4 separate regions of the Homo sapiens genome follow, and all the other regions are linked to region 1. Evidence: promoter capture Hi-C in 16 types of primary human blood cells and fetal thymus (Javierre and others, 2016). All regions are on one chromosome and are shown on one strand. The core of a region is centred on a gene start or on the middle of the fragment in contact, and the rest is flanking DNA. Distances in the headings are between cores, read along the strand shown.

The links. Contacts are between HindIII fragments. The CHiCAGO score rates a contact against its expected background, and 5 or more counts as called.
Region 2: a fragment that was not itself captured here is called in contact with the fragment with the promoter of PURB in region 1 in 7 of 17 cell types (monocytes, total CD8 T cells, fetal thymus and 4 more); the score reaches 9.8 in monocytes.
Region 3: a fragment that was not itself captured here is called in contact with the fragment with the promoter of PURB in region 1 in 6 of 17 cell types (monocytes, total B cells, non-activated CD4 T cells and 3 more); the score reaches 10.7 in monocytes.
Region 4: a fragment that was not itself captured here is called in contact with the fragment with the promoter of PURB in region 1 in 17 of 17 cell types (total CD8 T cells, naive CD4 T cells, naive B cells and 14 more); the score reaches 30.1 in total CD8 T cells.

What each region holds. Positions count from the first base shown.
Region 1 is chr7:44,884,059-44,887,947 of GRCh38, forward strand. It overlaps PURB (purine rich element binding protein B), which reads right to left and starts at 1,472. Exons shown (of 1, transcript NM_033224.5): 1 at 1-1,472. The coding sequence starts at 1,290. The coding sequence ends at 352. RefSeq lists enhancers at 544-1,503, 1,652-1,901, 3,499-3,598 and silencers at 962-1,011, 1,302-1,661. The HindIII fragment of the contact is 4,558 bases long and covers 422-3,889 here.
Region 2 is chr7:44,621,137-44,625,206 of GRCh38, forward strand. It overlaps OGDH (oxoglutarate dehydrogenase), which reads left to right. Exons shown (of 23, transcript NM_002541.4): 2 at 3,181-3,429. The coding sequence starts at 3,208. Among named protein-coding and RNA genes, the nearest start is that of OGDH, 17 kb to the left of the region's middle. RefSeq lists an enhancer at 1,519-1,828 and a silencer at 2,987-3,046. The HindIII fragment of the contact is 5,130 bases long and covers 1-4,070 here.
Region 3 is chr7:44,555,941-44,559,829 of GRCh38, forward strand. No RefSeq gene overlaps it. Among named protein-coding and RNA genes, the nearest start is that of DDX56, 16 kb to the right of the region's middle. The HindIII fragment of the contact is 4,749 bases long and covers 208-3,889 here.
Region 4 is chr7:44,584,161-44,588,333 of GRCh38, forward strand. No RefSeq gene overlaps it. Among named protein-coding and RNA genes, the nearest start is that of TMED4, 4.0 kb to the left of the region's middle. The HindIII fragment of the contact is 1,147 bases long and covers 716-1,862 here.

The sequences.
Region 1 (3,889 bases), core at 222-2,721:
ATGTTTCTTGCCCTGGATGTGCAAGGATCTATTCCCTCCAGGGATTATCCTGATGGGTTTACGAACCTCAGTTGAGAAACAACAGAAGCTGAGACAATTTTACGCAGGTGAGGAGATGCTGTTTTCCTCTTTGCAGGTTGCTGTCAGTTCCTTGGAACTTGACTGCTTTTCTCAAGTTGTCCGTCACTGTTCTCTTACGATTATTTCTCTTAACTGTGTTACGTTTTGTTTTTTCCCTCTGCGGCCTCCCTTGCTCCCTCTCCACTAGCTCACTGGGGATGAGCAGGAAAGGGAATTCTCTAGCCAAGGGGATGGTGGTTGGGTGGAGGCCTGTAGGGGAAGCTGCCCGTTTCAATCCTCATCCACCTCCTCACCCTCTGACTCTTCGCCGCCGCCGCTGCCCCCACCACGTCGCTCATAAAGCTTATCCCTCTGTCGTTCCTGGATTTCTTTCATCTCATCCGCATACCGGCAAAAGGCGCCTCCGAACTTGCCCCAGGCTTTGAAGGGTACGGTGATGGCATTGCGGTAGGACGGCTTCACCTCGCTCACTCGCAGAAACACCCCGTATTTGTTGCAGCCCACATCGAAGAAGAAGCGCTTGGAGTCCACGGTGATGGAGGTGCCCTCCGGGAGCTCTCCATACAGGCCGCCCCCTGGGCCCCCGGCGCCGCCTCCCGGGCCGCCTGCCAGCTCGTCGTCCTCGCCTCCGTAGTCGTCTATGAGCTTCGCCAGCGCGTCGCGGAACTCGATGAGGCCCTGCGCAGGCAGCGCGATGGTCTGGCCGCTCTGCAAGCCGCCCGGCCCGGGGCCCGCGCCGAAGCCGCCACCGCCGCGGTTGACCGTTTGGCGGATGCGCAGGAAGCGGCCGCGCTGGTTCTCCTTGAGGTCCAGGTAGTACTTGCGGTTCTCACGCACCAAGAATTCGCTCTTGAGCGCGCGCCGCGGCCCGCCGCCCTCCTCGGCGCCAGCCGCCAGCTGCTCGGGGCTGCTAGGGCCCAGCTGCGCGTAGTGTTCTATGAAGTCGCCCAGCGAGTCGCGGAACTCGGCGGCCACCGCCATGGACAGCGTGAGGCGGCTCTTGGAACCGCCCGCGCCCACCTCGGCGATCTTGAGGAAGCGGCCCTTGGCGTTCTGCTTCACATCTAAGTAGAAGCGCTTGTTCTGGATGTCCAGCCGCTTCGAGGCCAGCTCCTGCGTCTCTTGCTCGCCGCCGCCGCGGGACGCGGGCTGGAACCCGCACGGCCCACCGCCGCCGCCGCGCTCGCTGCCGCTGTCGCCGTCCGCCATCTTCTAGGCCGCCGCCTCGCCGCCACCGCCCGCCGCGCTCGCGCCCCCGCCCTCCGGCTCGCGCTCCGGGGCCCCCCAGCCTCGCCCGCCCGGCTCGCTCACGCGCTCCCGCCGCTCATCGCCGGCCGCCGCCGCCCCCCCATCGCCTCCGCGCCCCGCCCCCGCGACTTCCGTGCAGCCCTAGCCACTTCCGGCGCGCGATTTCCCGTGAAGTCACTCCGTCCCGCCCTCCGCGGCCTCGCGGCCGGAAGCGCCGCGGCGGCGTGGCGCAGAGGGGTGACGTCAGGGGCCGCGCCGGGCGGGCGGCAAGCTGAGAGTAGGCTAGTGTTACTGCTCGGTTTCTAGCCCTGGGGACTTGCCAGCCTTAGCGTGACTCAGCCGCCCGCTGCGTCTGTCTACGCGCCTCTTCCCGTGACACTTTTACTTTAGACTCCGGTGTCGTCCACTTCCCTCCTTCTCGCTTCCGGGGCGTTAGCTGAGCATACTCAGGCCCCAGCCTGCTCGCGCTGGTTGTGTGCTGGGAACAGAGTTCCAGTCTATACACTGGCGACCGGGGGGAGGGAGATCCTTTGGAGCACTCGGAAGCGGGTTCTGACCAGCCTGTGGGGTTCCCTAGAGGAGGCATGAGCTGACTCTGAAGGGCAAACTGCAGTTGGCCTGGCAACTCTGGAGAAGAGCCACCCAGCATAGGAGACGGCAGTGCAGAGGCACCCAGGGCCTGATGCTGGGAGCTCAGAGCAGCTGGGGGTGTGTATGCCTGAAGAATGGTCGTAGATGACACTGGAGGGTGGATTAGATCAAGGAAAGCCATTTGCAGTGCGGGAGAGTTAGTGCCTACCCCAGAGTCTGGAGCCACCGTATGTGATCAGGTTCACATTTTGGAAAGATCACTGTGGGAACAATATAGAAAGAAGATGATTTAGGATGAGGTTAGATTTGGGATCCAGAGATCAGTTAACTGTCCCCACAGTTAGCCATATTAAAGTGGTTAAGGAAATTGACTGCCAATCTTTAGTTTCTTTATCAATAAAATGAATAATTCCTATGAGGTCTTTTTGTTGTAAGCATTGAGGTGTAACAAGAGGCAGAATTGGAATAGTGTTAAAAAGTGTAGGCTCTGCAACTGCACTGGGTTTGAATCTGTGACCTTGACCAGTTACTTGATTTTCCAAAGCCAAAATGTCCTCATCCTTAAATTTTTTTTTTTTTTTTTTTGAGTCTTGCTCTGTCACCCAGGCTGGAGTGCAGTGGCGTGATTTTAGCTCATTACACCCTCCACCTCCCGGGTTCAAGCAATTCTCCTACCTCAGCCTCCTGAGTAGCTGGGATTACAGGCAACCGCCACCACACCCGGCTAATTTTTGTATTTTTAGTAGAGATGGGGTTCCACAATGTTGGCCAGGCTGGTCTTGAACTCCTGACCTCAGGTGATCTGCCCGCCTCAGCCTCCCAAAGTGCTGGGATTACAGATGTGAGCCACCACACCCAGCCTAAATGTAGTTATTCATAGATAGTGAATCCAACAATGGACTTGTAAAGAACACAAATAATAGATAACCCAATATAAAAGGTGAAAGATTTTAACAGACACTTCGTCAAAAAAGCCAGTAAGCACATGAAACAGTGCTCAACATTATTCATCATTAGGGAAATATAAATTAAAGTCAGAATGAAATACCAACTAGAATGGCTAAAATTAAAAAATGTAACATCAAGTGTTGAGAAGGATGTGAAGAAACTGGAACTCATACATTGCTAGTAAGGATATAAAATGGTATAAATGCTTTGGGAAACAGTTTGGCAGTTTCTTATATACCTTTCATAAAATAAGACCCAACATTTCCACTTTTTTTTTTTTTTTGAGCAGTCTTGCTCTGTTGCCCAGGTTGGGGTGCAGTGGAACAATCTTGGCTCACTGCAACCTCTGCCTCCTGGGTTCAAGCAATTCTCCTGCTTCAGCCTCCTAAGTAGCTGGGACTATAGCCATACCCAGCTCATTTTTTGTATTTTAGTAGAGATAGGGTTTCACCGTGTTGCTCAGGCTGGTCTCGAACACCTGAGCTCAGGCAATCCACCCACCTCGGCCTCCCAAAGTGCTAGGATTACAGGCGTGACCCACCGCAGCCAGCCTCCACTTCTAGGTATTTACCCGAGGGAAGTGAAAGTATGATCACACAGTTTGTATGACCCCATTTATATAAAAGTATATGAAAGAGGAAGGTGTGTGTGTATGTGTCTGTGTGTGTGTGTGTCAGAGAGCAAATCAGTAGTTGCCTGGGCCTGAATATGGAGGGACAGATTGGAAAGGGTAATACAAGGAAACTTTTAAGGGTGATGTATTCTGTGTCTTGTTTATGGTAGTGATTTCACAGATTTGCCAAAACTCATTCAAATGTAGTTTATTATAGAGAAATTAGACCCCAATAAAGTAATTATTATTATTTTGAAAAGACACGAATCAAAGAGGATGTTGGGGACAACTGCACTAAAAAAAAAAATACCTTGTAGGGTTGTTGGGCAGTAATCCTTGAAACATGTTTAGCGTAATGCCTGAATTACAGTGAGTGCTCAATAAATGTGAATTCGGGTGCATCCACAT
Region 2 (4,070 bases), core at 825-3,324, 260 kb before region 1:
GATCATAGCTTACTGAAGCCTTGACCTCCTGGGCTCAGGCTATCCTTCCACCTCAGCCTCCGGGGTAGCTGGTACTACAGACATGTGCCACCACACCCTGATAGCTTTTAAATTTTTTGTGGAGATGTGGTTTCACTATGTTGCCCGGGCTGGTCTCAAACTCCTGGCCTCAAACAATCCTTAAGCCTTGGCACCCCAAAGTGCTAGGATTATAGGCATGAGCCACCGTGCTTGGCTTTTAATATCTTCTTATGCCGTTTTATGTAAGAGAGAAAGGTGAAGAATGGGTATTTACCAGAATTAGAAATGTGCGTTAGTGTTGGCTCTGTCGTTCTGTCAAAGTGTGGACAGCAAATAGCTGTCCTGGCCGTTCCTGGGTGGAGTTGGGGATGTTGAGCCATCTGCTGAAGGGCAGCTCTTCCCGTGAGTCATCTTAAGGGAAGTTTAAAAATCTCAGCTGGGTGTGGTGGCTCACGCCTGTAATACCAGCACTTTGGGAGGCTGAGGTGGGCAGATCATGAGGTCAGGAGTTTGAGACCAGCCTGGCCAACATAATGAAACCCTGTCTCTACTAAAAATACAAAAATTAACCAGGTGTGATGGCATGCACCTGTAGTCCTAGCTACTCGGGAGGCTGAGGCAGGGGAATTGCTTGAACCTGGGATGGGAGGTTGCACTGAGCCGAGATCACACCACTGCACTCCAGCCTGGACTACAGAGCAAGACTCCGTATCAAAAAAAAAAAATCTCCAGCTGTTGTGGCAGCTCTGCTGGGCAGCACTTAACTATGTGTCAGATTCAGTGACTGCGGATAGCAAAATGTCATGATTTACTTAAACAGGATCATGTGGAAGGGGCCACTTTGGGAAGAACAGATGAAATTGGTGTTTTACGATTGTCAGTTCAGTGCCTGTTAATTGGGCTATTGCAGCAACTGAATACTGATAGTTAATGAGGTGATGCTATTGTTTTCTGGGAGAAAACCCAACTCAGAGGCAATTGGGTATTTAATATTGCCTTAATAATGACATTAAAGGAAAAAAATGAACATTTTCCTTTGAGCCTGAGAAATTAAAAAAAAAATAGCATAAAATGAAGCAACAGTAGTATTTTTGCTGTCAATGTTAGGGCTGTTTGTCTTCCTTAAATATATCAGTGGAAAAACTTGGAGTGTAGTTGGAGGTAGGAAGAACTACCGAATTAACTTAAAACTTTTGATTTCTAAAGTGAAAACCCAGGGGTAAAGATTGCATTCCCTAATTATATCCAGAATATATTGCTTGTTTACCTTTAATTTGTAAGGAGCAAGTTTTTGTTTGTTGTTCAGTTTGTTTTTAAAGAATATGTTCTGCTGTTTACTTTTGCTGACCTATCTCTTCTCAGTGGAGCAGGCCAGAGGTGAATGCAGGACACTCTAAGCCCTCTCTCTTGGTGTCCCTTAAGTGTATTCTGAGCATATTTGGGCCAAGAGGAAGTTTCTGATAAATAATATAGAAGATATTTTTATGTAACAGTTATTTCTGGGTAATTCACACTATGTTTCAGAGCTTGGATTTTCTTCGGGTAGGTGTGGACATGGAGTGTAGTTCTAACTTTACAACCAGAGCACCTGCTTTGAGACAAATTCATGAGCAACCATGTAGGCCAGCAAGCACCTTTTTTTCCACAGGCAGCGTCCTTGTGAACTTTCCGCTTGGATCCTGACTCTGCTGTTAGTAGCCTATGACCTTGGATGAAATGTAAGGGAATAGAAACTGAAGCTATCTGTAAAGTGAAAGAGCTGGTGCCTGCCTTATTGGGAGCCTCTGGGTTTATGTATGAGTCAGATGCGTAGAGTTGCTCACCATGGAGGGCCCAGGGTAGGCAGGCATTATTGAACAACTGCTCCATGTGCTCTTTTCAATCTTTGCAGACCCCACCCACGTCTCCCTTGCTCAGACCTGGCTCCCCATGGCTTATGAAAGGGGGCTGAGTGCAGAAGGTGGCAGGCAGGACACTGGACAACCCTCTGTGGCTTTTCCTTACCCTTCGTAGTACCATGAGATTCTGGCTCTTCCCGTCTCTGTGTTTCTGCCTATGGGTCCTTCCACATGCAGTGCCTCGTCTTCCCTCCTTCCCATCCATGTCCTTTTGTCTTCAGGCACACCCACTTGGAAGGAGCCCATCCTCTCACAGGGTCTGCTGGCATATTCTGCACCTCTCAAGTACTCATATTTCCTCTGCAATCTTTTCTATGTTGTTTTTCCTCTGCTCAAGGGTAAATTGAGAGTAAGGAAAGTATTTTTCTAATTTCTTTGTATTTTCCATAATATTGTAAGTACAGCAGGTACTCAGTAGTTTCTGGACAGATTAGAAAATGTTTTACTTATTCTCCAATTAATCCTAATCCTAATTCTAAATTAATTAATCCTTGTTGCCTTTCTTCTAATTGTTTTATATATATGTAATATGTAAATTTAAAGAACATCGTATGTTTATCATCTTAGCCCTTAAACTAGATTTAATGGTTTTTTGTTTTGTTTTGTTTTGAGACAGAGTCTCACTCTGTTGCTAGGCTGGAGTGCAGTGGTGCAATCTCGGCTCACTGCAGCCTCCACCTACCAGGTTCAAGCAATTCTCCTGCCTCAGCCTCCCAAGTATCTGGGTCTACAGGCATGCACCACCACACCCAGCTAATTTTTGTATTTTTAGTAGAGATGTGGTTTCACCATGTTGGCCAGGATGGTCTTGATCTCCTGACCTCGTGATCCACCCGCCTTGGCCTCCCAAAGTGCTGGGATTACAGGTGTGAGCCACCGAGTCTGGCCTAGATTTAAATTTTTAAGTGAAGATGGTAATATCTGCAACTGTGCACTCACCTTCCTTGGGCTCGCACAGGCATCCTGTGTTAGTAGGTGCAAGAGTGTGTTTCAGTTTCACACAGTCACAGCTCTGTTGTGCTCTCAGGCACATGAACTGGTGGCACTGAGCAGGTAGCACTCTTGTGAATACATTTATAGGCCAGGGTCTTTCTCCTCAACAATTAGAGTTGAACATGTTTTGTTTTTGTTTTTGTTTTTCTAGTAGCTTTTAAAAAAAAATTATCCTTTCTCTAGAGCATCAGGATCTAGTAGCCTTGTCTCCTAAATACTCATTTTTAAAACCTTTCTTTCTTGTTTTTTTTTTTTTTTTTTTGTACAGGCAGTTGTGAAAAACTTCAGGACAAAAATGTTTCATTTAAGGACTTGTGCTGCTAAGTTGAGGCCATTGACGGCTTCCCAGACTGTTAAGACATTTTCACAAAACAGACCAGCAGCAGCTAGGACATTTCAACAGATTCGGTGCTATTCTGCACCTGTTGCTGCTGAGCCCTTTCTCAGTGGGACTAGTTCGAACTATGTGGAGGAGATGTACTGTGCTTGGCTGGAAAACCCCAAAAGTGTACATAAGGTAAGGCTCGCAGGGCTGTGGGTCTGCCTCATGTTGGTGTGTTGGCCTGTTCCTGACTGGTCACCAGGTAAGTGTGTGCGTCCTGAGGAGTCAGCGGGCAGACAGGCAGCTGGAGCGCCATACCAACCACCGTATCTGTATCGGACCCAGCATAGCCCCAGCAGAAGCCATGGTCCCTGGATTGGCGTCCAGCAGTAGACACTGTGCTTAACTCTGCGAGGATGTGAAGAAGCATGTGTGTGACCCTCCAGCATCTCCGCAAGGGCTGCTTCAGGATGAAGCCGCTGAAGAAAGAAGAAAGAAAGAAAGTGTGTGGAAAAGAGCAGGACCTCAGGAAGCTCCTCCATTCTAACTGTCTGGAGAGGATACTTTCATTTGTAACATGCCGTAGTCACCTCATGTAATTTCTGTATGAATGGCCTTTTAGCTCATTATGTTCGTATTTTTTTCCTGTTTGTTTCTAACTTCTCTGTATTACATATAAGGGCATTTTCTAAACTTTTCACCACATGATTACTGATGTAAGTCATGTCTTGTTTTTTTTGGTTTGTTTTTGTTTTTGTTTGTTTTGTTTTGTTTCAGACAGAGTCCCACTGTTGTCCAGGCTGGAGTGCAGTGGCGGGATCTCGGCTTGCTGCAAC
Region 3 (3,889 bases), core at 1,332-3,831, 330 kb before region 1:
CCGGGCGTGGAAATTAGCCAGGCACCACACCTGGCTAATTTTTGTATTTTTAGTAGAGACAGGGTTTTGCTATGTTGGCCAGGCTGGTCTTGAACTCCTGACCTCAGTTGATCTGCCCACTTCTGCCTCTCAGAGTGCTGGGATTACCGGCACGAGCCCACCATGCCCAGGGGAGATACTTTCTTTTTTATATTTTGAGATAAGAAAAGCTTTATTTAAAGTCAACTGGCAAGGAAGGAGGGAATGCTCAATCTCTTTTCCTGAGCTAGGGGTTGGGTTGGGTTTTATAAGCACAGGGTAATAATGAGGCATGATCTAATTGGATCTCACAATGAGGTGATGCTGGAAGGTAATATCTGACTGGATCCTGCCGTGGGGTGATGCCAGAGCTTGATCTGATTGGATCCTGGATCCTGCCATGTGGTGTGTGGTGTCCGATGTTTTGTTTTTTAACTTTGTTTTTTGTTTTTTTGAGACAGAGTCTCGCTTTGTCACCCAAACTGGAGTGCAGTGGAGCGATCTCAGCCTACTGCAAACTCTGCCTCCCAAGTTCAAGCAATTCTCCTGCCTCAGCCTCCTGAGTAGCTGGGATTACAGGCATGGACCACCACACCTGGCTTTTTTTTTTTTTTTCCTTTTTTGGTAGAGACAGGGTTTCACCAAGTTGGGCAGGCTGGTCTCAAACTCCTGACCTCAAGTGATCCGCCCACCTCGGCCTCCCAAAAGGCTGGGATTACAGGCATGAGCTACCATGCCTGGCCTTGTTTTTTAACTTTTATTTTACATTAAGTTGTACATATGCAGGTTTGTTATATAGGTAAACTTGTGTCACGGGGGTTTGTTGTACAGATTATTTTCTCGCCCAGGTACTAAGTCTAGTACCCAATAGTTATTTTTCCTGCTCCTCTCCCTCCTCCCACCCTCCACTGGGTTCCAGCATCTGTCGTTCCCCTCTTAGTGCCTATGAGTTCTCATCATTTAGTGAGAGAATATAAGTGAGAATATGTGGTATTTTGTTTTCTGTTCCTGCGTTAGTTTGCTAAGGATAATGGCCTCCAGCTCCATCCATGTTCCTGCAAAGGACATAATCACATGTCTTTTTTTATGTCTGAATAGTATTCCATGACATATATGTACATTTTCTTTATCCAATCTGTCATTGATGGGCATTTAGGTTGATTCCATGTCTTTACTATTGTGAATAGTGCTGCAATGAACAGACGTGTGCATGTGTCCTTATGGCAGAACAACTTACATTCCTTTGGGTATATACCCAGTAATGGGATTGCTGGGTCGAATGGTAGTTCTGCCTTTAGGTCTCTGAGGAATTGCCACGCTGCTTTCCACAATGGTTGACCTAATTTACACTCCCACCAACACTGTACAAGTGTTCCCTTTTCTCTATGACCTTGCCAGCATGTTATTTTTTCTTTTTTTTACTTTTTAATAATAGCCATTCTGGCTGATGTGAGATGGTATCTCATTGTGGTTTTGATTTCTGTTTCTTTAATGATCAGTGATATTGAGTTTTTTTTCAAATGTTTGTTGGTTGCATGTATGTCTTCTTTCGAAAAGTGTCTAGGAATGAGATACTGTCACCACTTCTATTCAACATAGTGTTAAAAGTTCTAACCAGAGCAATTTGGCAAAAATGAAATGAAAAGAAAAGAGAAAAGAGAGAAAGAGAGAGAGAGAAAGAGAGGGAGAGAGGGAGGGAGGGAAAAGGGAAGGGGAAGGGAAAGGGGAAGGGGAGGGAGGAAGGAAAAGAGTGTCCAAATTAGAAAAAAATTAAACTTATCTCTATTTGCAGATAGATTTTATATTCTAAAACAGTAAATACGCCACTGAAAATGTATTATAACTTGTCTGAGTGTGGTGGAGCATGCCTATAATCCCAGCACTTTGGGAGACTGAGGCAGGACAATCACTTGAGCCCAGGAGTTTAAGACCAGCCTGGGCAACAACGTGAGACCCCATCTCTACAAAAAATAAAATAATTAGCCAGGCATGCTGGCATGCCTGTAGTCCCAGCTATTCAGGAGGCTGAGGCAGGAGGACTGTTTGAGTCCTGGCAATGGAGACTGCAGTGAGCTATAACCGTGCCACTGCACTCCAGCCTAGACAACAGGGTGAGACCCTATCTTGAAAATTTTTTTTAATAAAAAAAATTACTAGAACTAATAAATGAACTTGGCAAAATTATAGGATACAAAATCAATACACAAAAATCAGATGCATTTCCTTCCTTCCTTTCCTTTCCCTCCCTCCCTCCCTCTCTCTCTCTCTCTCTTTTTCTTTCTTTTCTTCTTTCTTTCTTCCTATCTGTCTTTTTTCTTTTTGAGACAGGGTCTCACTTTTTCACCCAGGCTGGAGTGCAGTGACACGATCATCACTAACTGCAGCCTTGACCTCCCAGGCTCAAGCAGTTCTCCCACCGTAGCCTTCGGAGTAGCTAGGAGGGACTACAGGTGCTCATCACCATGCCTAGCTAATCTTCCCCCTCCCTCCTTCTCCTCCCCCCTCCCCCCTCCCCCCTCCCCTCCCCTCCCCTCTCCTTTCCTTTCCTTGACAGGGTCTTGATCTGTCGCCCAGGCTGGAGTGCAATGGCGTGACTCAGCTCACTGCAACTTACGCCTCCCCAGTTCTAAGTGATTCCCTTGCCTCAGCCTCCCGAGTAAGTAGAATTACAGGTGTGCCACCATGCCCAGCTAATTTTATATTTTTAGTAGAGACAGGGTTTCACCATGTTGGCCAGGCTGGTCTCGAACTCCTGACCTCAGGTGATCCACCCGCCTTAGCCTCCCAAAGTGCTGGGATTACAGGCGTGAGCCACTGCACCCAGCCCCTGGCTAATTTTTTTAATTTTTATTTTTAGAGATGGCATTTCACTGTGTTGCCCAGGCTGGTCTTGAACTCCTGGCCTCAAGTGATCCTCACTCTTCAGCCTCCTGAATTGCTGGGATTATAAGTGAGGGCCACCATGCCTGACTTTAGCACCACTTATCTTGACACATGAAAAAGATAAACCATTCTGTTCCCACTGTTCCTGCCATCTGGTGGTCTCTTACTTGCAGCTGTATACACTCCTAACTGATGTACCTGTAATTCCCTGCTGTCCACCACCTGACTATTAGCACCCCTTCTCCTACTGTTGCCCCACAGCAGAGTCCTCAACCTCAACACTACGGACATTTTCAACCACAGAACTCTCTTGTGGGGGCTGCCTTGTACATTGCATGATTTTAACAGTATCCCCGGCCTCTTCCCACCTAAAGCCAGTAGCATCCATTGCCCAGATATGATAACCTAAAATGTTTCTTGGCTGGCACAGTGGCTCACACCTGTAATCCCAGCACTTTGGGAGGCTGAGGCGGGCAGATCACTTGAGGTTAGGAGTTCATGACCAGCCTGGCCAACATGGTGAAACCCCATCTCCTAAAAATACAAAGATTAGCTGGGTGTGGTGGCACATGCCTGTAGTCCCAACTACTTGGCAGGCTGAGGCAGGAGAATCACTTGAACCCGGGAGGTGGATGGAGGTTGTAGTGAGCCAAGAACACACCACTGCACTCCAGCCTGGGCAACGGAGCAAGACTCTGTCTCAAAAAAAAAAAAACAACAATATTTCTATACTTTCCCAAAAGCCCCACTGGGGCAAATCTGGCCAAGAACCACCACCCTGCAGGAAGCCTGTGCTAAGCCAACTAATCTGCTCCCTCCACCCAGCTCTGCTATAACCAAGCCAAGCCTGTCTCTCAGGCTTCTCCGGGCCTTCCCAACGCCTGCGCATACAATCTCCTTGGCAGTGAGGATTTCTACCACCACCCAGGCCTGAGTGGTCTCTCCCTCCTCTGGCCATGATAGCAGGGGTTGGCTGTCTCCCTTGGCA
Region 4 (4,173 bases), core at 39-2,538, 300 kb before region 1:
ATTCTATCTCAAAACAAACAAAAACAGGGCCGGGCGCAGTGGCTCACACCTGTAATCCCAGCACTTTGGGAGGCCAAGGTGGGCAGATCACGAGGTCAGGAGTTCGAGACCAGCCTGGCCAATATGGTGAAACCCTACCTCTACCAAAAATACAAAAATTAGCTGGGTGTGGTGGTGCTCACCTGTAGTCCCAGCTACTTGGGAGACTGAGGCAGAAGAATCGCTTGAACCCAGGAGGCAGAGGTTGCAGTGAGCCGAGATCATGCCACTGCACTCCAGCCTGGGTGAGAGAGAGACTCGTGTCCAAAAAAAAAAAAACAAACCATATAACAACATATATATATATTATACATATTATATATATATTATATATATAAATTTCCCCTCTCTTTTTGTTGTTTGTTATTCATGGCATTTACTTATTGAAGAAACTGGGTCATTTGACCAACAGAATTTTCCACTTTCTGGGTTTTGCTGATTGTATCTTCAGGTGTCATTTAACGTTTTTTGTCCCTGGTATGTCCTGTAATCACAGTTAATTCTAGAGTCAGGGGAGGTTTACAGTGAAACTAATGAAGCTTAATCTTCAGGCCCTCCCTTGCATAGACCCCCGTACCTAATTTCGCATTTATAATTTTGTGTCTTTTTCTTAAAGAGGACTGTGAAATTTGTATAGTTTAAGGCCCCACAAAGCTTGGATTTGCCCCTGGCTAGAAGCTTCATTAGGTTTAGGTGTAATGTTGAGGTTTGGGTTTTTTTGTTTTGTTTTGTTTGCAATAACGCTTCGTGGCTGGCACTATGTACTTCTACTGAGGCACAAGGCGGGTTTGTCTCTTAGTAATATTGTAATTCATCTCTCAATTTGGGGGTTGTCATCCTGATTATCCATGAAGTTTACCATCAGCCTTTCTTCTAATAGTCTAGCAAACGTTGATGATCATTAGACCATTGGTTCTCAACGAGGGTTGATTCTGCCCTGTCCTACCAAGGGGAAATTTGGCAATGTCTGGAGATATTTTGGATTGTTGCAACTGGGTGGGGGGTGGCGGGTGGTACTGCTGTTATCTAGAAAATGAATGCAAGGAATACTGCTAAACATTGTATAATTCACAGAGCACACCTCCCCCCCACAGCGAAGAATTATCCAGCTCAAAATGTCAGTAGTACCCAGGTTGAGAAACCCTAGTGTAGTTTTATGATGTTCCTTAGGTGTGCAAAGTGGTAATTTCAAATGCTCTCATTTCTCCTGCATTTATAAGATGAGATTCTTCTACAAAGGTGAGCATTCCCTCATCTCTCTGGTTACTTTGAAATACAATCCATTCGGGATAGCCAGGATGTATGCTTGATGCTTTCCCACGCACAGTGGCTCTGCCTATAATCCCAGCACTTTGGGGGGCCAAGACAGGAGGACTGCTTGAGCCCAGGAAATGGCAAGATCTTTACAAAATATGTAAAAATTAGACAGGCATGGTGATGCATGCCTGTAATTCCCGCTACTTAGGAGGCTGAGGCAGGGAAATGGCTGGAGCCCAGGAGGTTGAGGATACAGTGAGCCGTGATGGGACGACAGCACTCTAGCATGGGTGACTGAGTGAGACCTTGTCTCAAATAATAGTAATAATAATAAAGATGGATGGATGGATGCCCCAGCAACCTCTAACTGTGACCACTTTGGGTTCTTTGGGGAGAAGGGGCAGTGCTATCATGAATTGATGGATGTTTAGATATTTGATGTGCTTTAATCCATTACAGTCATTGTCCTTTTTTAAATGTTCAGATTGTCTCATCAAATATTTAGTTGCTGCTGTGTCCTTCTGGCACAATCCTAGTAATCCACAATCCTAGTAGTCTTTAGGTCAAGCTTGTCCAACCTGTGGCCCATGCAGCCCAACACAAATTCATAAACTTTCTAAAAACATTATGAGATTTTTTTTTTTTTAGCTCATCAGCTATTGTTAGTGTATTTTATGTGTGGCCCAAGACAATTCTTCTTCTTCCAGTGTGGCCCAGGAAAGCCAAAAGATTGGACACCCTGGACTTCCTTGCTTTCCGTTTTATACATTTACTGCCCAGAAACAAAACCAACCATTTCTCCAAGGAACCCTAATTCACTTTAGTGAGAAATGGTATTTGTATTGGCAAACTTATTTTCTTTCTTTTTTTTTTTTTTTTTAAGGAGGATCCTGAAATTTGTCTTAACTGAGAGATAATATTAAAGAGATTGTATTCTCCACTGCAGAAAATTTAACTTAGGAGGTGAGGCACTGTGGCTCATGCCTGTAATCCCAGCATTTGGGAGGCCGAGGCAGGAAGATCGCTTGAGTCCAGAAGTTCAAGACCAGTCTGGGCTACATGGTGACACCCTGTCTCTACCAAAAAAAAAATTAGCTGGGCATGGTGGCATGGGCCTGTAGTCCCAACTACTCGGGAGGCTGAGGTGGGAGGATTGCTTGACCCCCAGGAGGTTGAGGCTGCAGTGAGCTGTGATGGTGCTGCTGCACTCCAGCCTGGGCAACAGAGTGAGACCCCATCTCCAAAAAAGAAAGAAAATTTAACTTAGGGAGTCTAATTCCCCAGATGAGAGATTTTTCTGCTCAGAAGCCATGAAGCAATTTCTGCCGATGTTTGTCTAGGCTCTTTGTCTAGACCAGCCACCCCGTCCTTCATTTGTTCAACCAGTATGTGCTGTGCAGCCATTTGTGCCAGCCACTGTTCTAATGGGAAAACACAGGTGACCAAAACAAAAATCCTTGTCTAGGCCAGGCGCAGTGGCTCACGCATGTAATCCCAGCACTTTGGGTGGATCATCTGAACTCAGAAGTTCAAGACTAGCCTGGACAACATGGCAAAACCCCGTCTCTACCAAAAATACAAAAAATTAGCCAGGCATGTGGCAAGCACCTGTAGTCCCAGCTTCTCTGGAGGCTGAGGTGGGAGGATCACTTCAGCCTGGGAGGCAGAGGTTGCAGTGAACCGAGATTGTGCCACTGCACTCTAGGCCTGGGTGAGAGTGAGGCTCTGTCTCAAAAAACAAGAACAACAGCAACAAAAATCCTTGTCTCCATGGCTTTATCTTGATTGTCGTCTGCCAAACAAGATAAATAAAGAAATATAGAGCATGTCAGATGGAGATAAGTATCAAGAATAAAAATAAGGCAGGGAAGAAGAAAGTATAGTGGACTTAGGCCAGGCGCAGTGGCTCACGCCTGTAATCCCGACACTTTGGGAGGCTGAGGCAGGGGGATCACGAGGTCAGGAGATCAAGACCATCCTAGCTAACATGGTGAAACCCCGTCTCTACTAAAAAAATACAAAAAAATTAGCTGGGCGTGGTGGCGGGTGTCTGTAGTCCCAGCTACTCGGGAGGCTGAGGCAGGAGAATGGCGTGAACCTGGGAGGTGGGCTTGCAGGAAGCCAAGATCGCGCCACTGCGCTCCAGCCTGGGCGACACAGCGAGACTCCATCTTAAAAAAAAAAAAAAAAAAGAGAGTATAGTGGACATAATGGGGGACCAGAAGACATGTCCATGTTTGAATCACTGGAACCTGTGAATGTGACCTTATGTGGAAAAAGAGTCTTTGCAGATGTAATTCAGGATTTTGAGACTTGATAATCCTGGATTAACCAGGTGGACCCTAAATCCAATGACAGGTGTCCTTATAAGAGATAAGAAATACCTCACCTAATAATAACTACTATTAGAACAACAAAAACAGAAAATAAATTGTAGAAGAGTGTTAAATAATTAAAAGTAGAACAATCATATACCCCAGCAGTCCCACCTGTAAGTATTTATCCAAAGGAAGTAAAGTCAGGATCTGGAAAAGATACCTACACGCCCATTTTCATAGCAGCATTATTCACAGTAGCCAAGAGGTGGAAGCAATGTAAATATACATTGTACCTACCGCAAAATGTGGTATATACATACAATGCAGTATTATCAAGCCATAAAAAGGGATGAAATTCTGATTCATGCTACAACATGGATGAAACTTAACATTATGCTAAGTAGTATAAGTCAATCACAGAAAGACAATTGCCATATGATTCCATTTAGATAAAGTGTCTAAAGTAGTCAAAATCATAGAAGCAAAAAGTAGAATGGTTACCTGCGGGGGGAGCTGTTGTCTAATGGGTACAGAGTTTCAGATTAGCAAAATGAAAAAG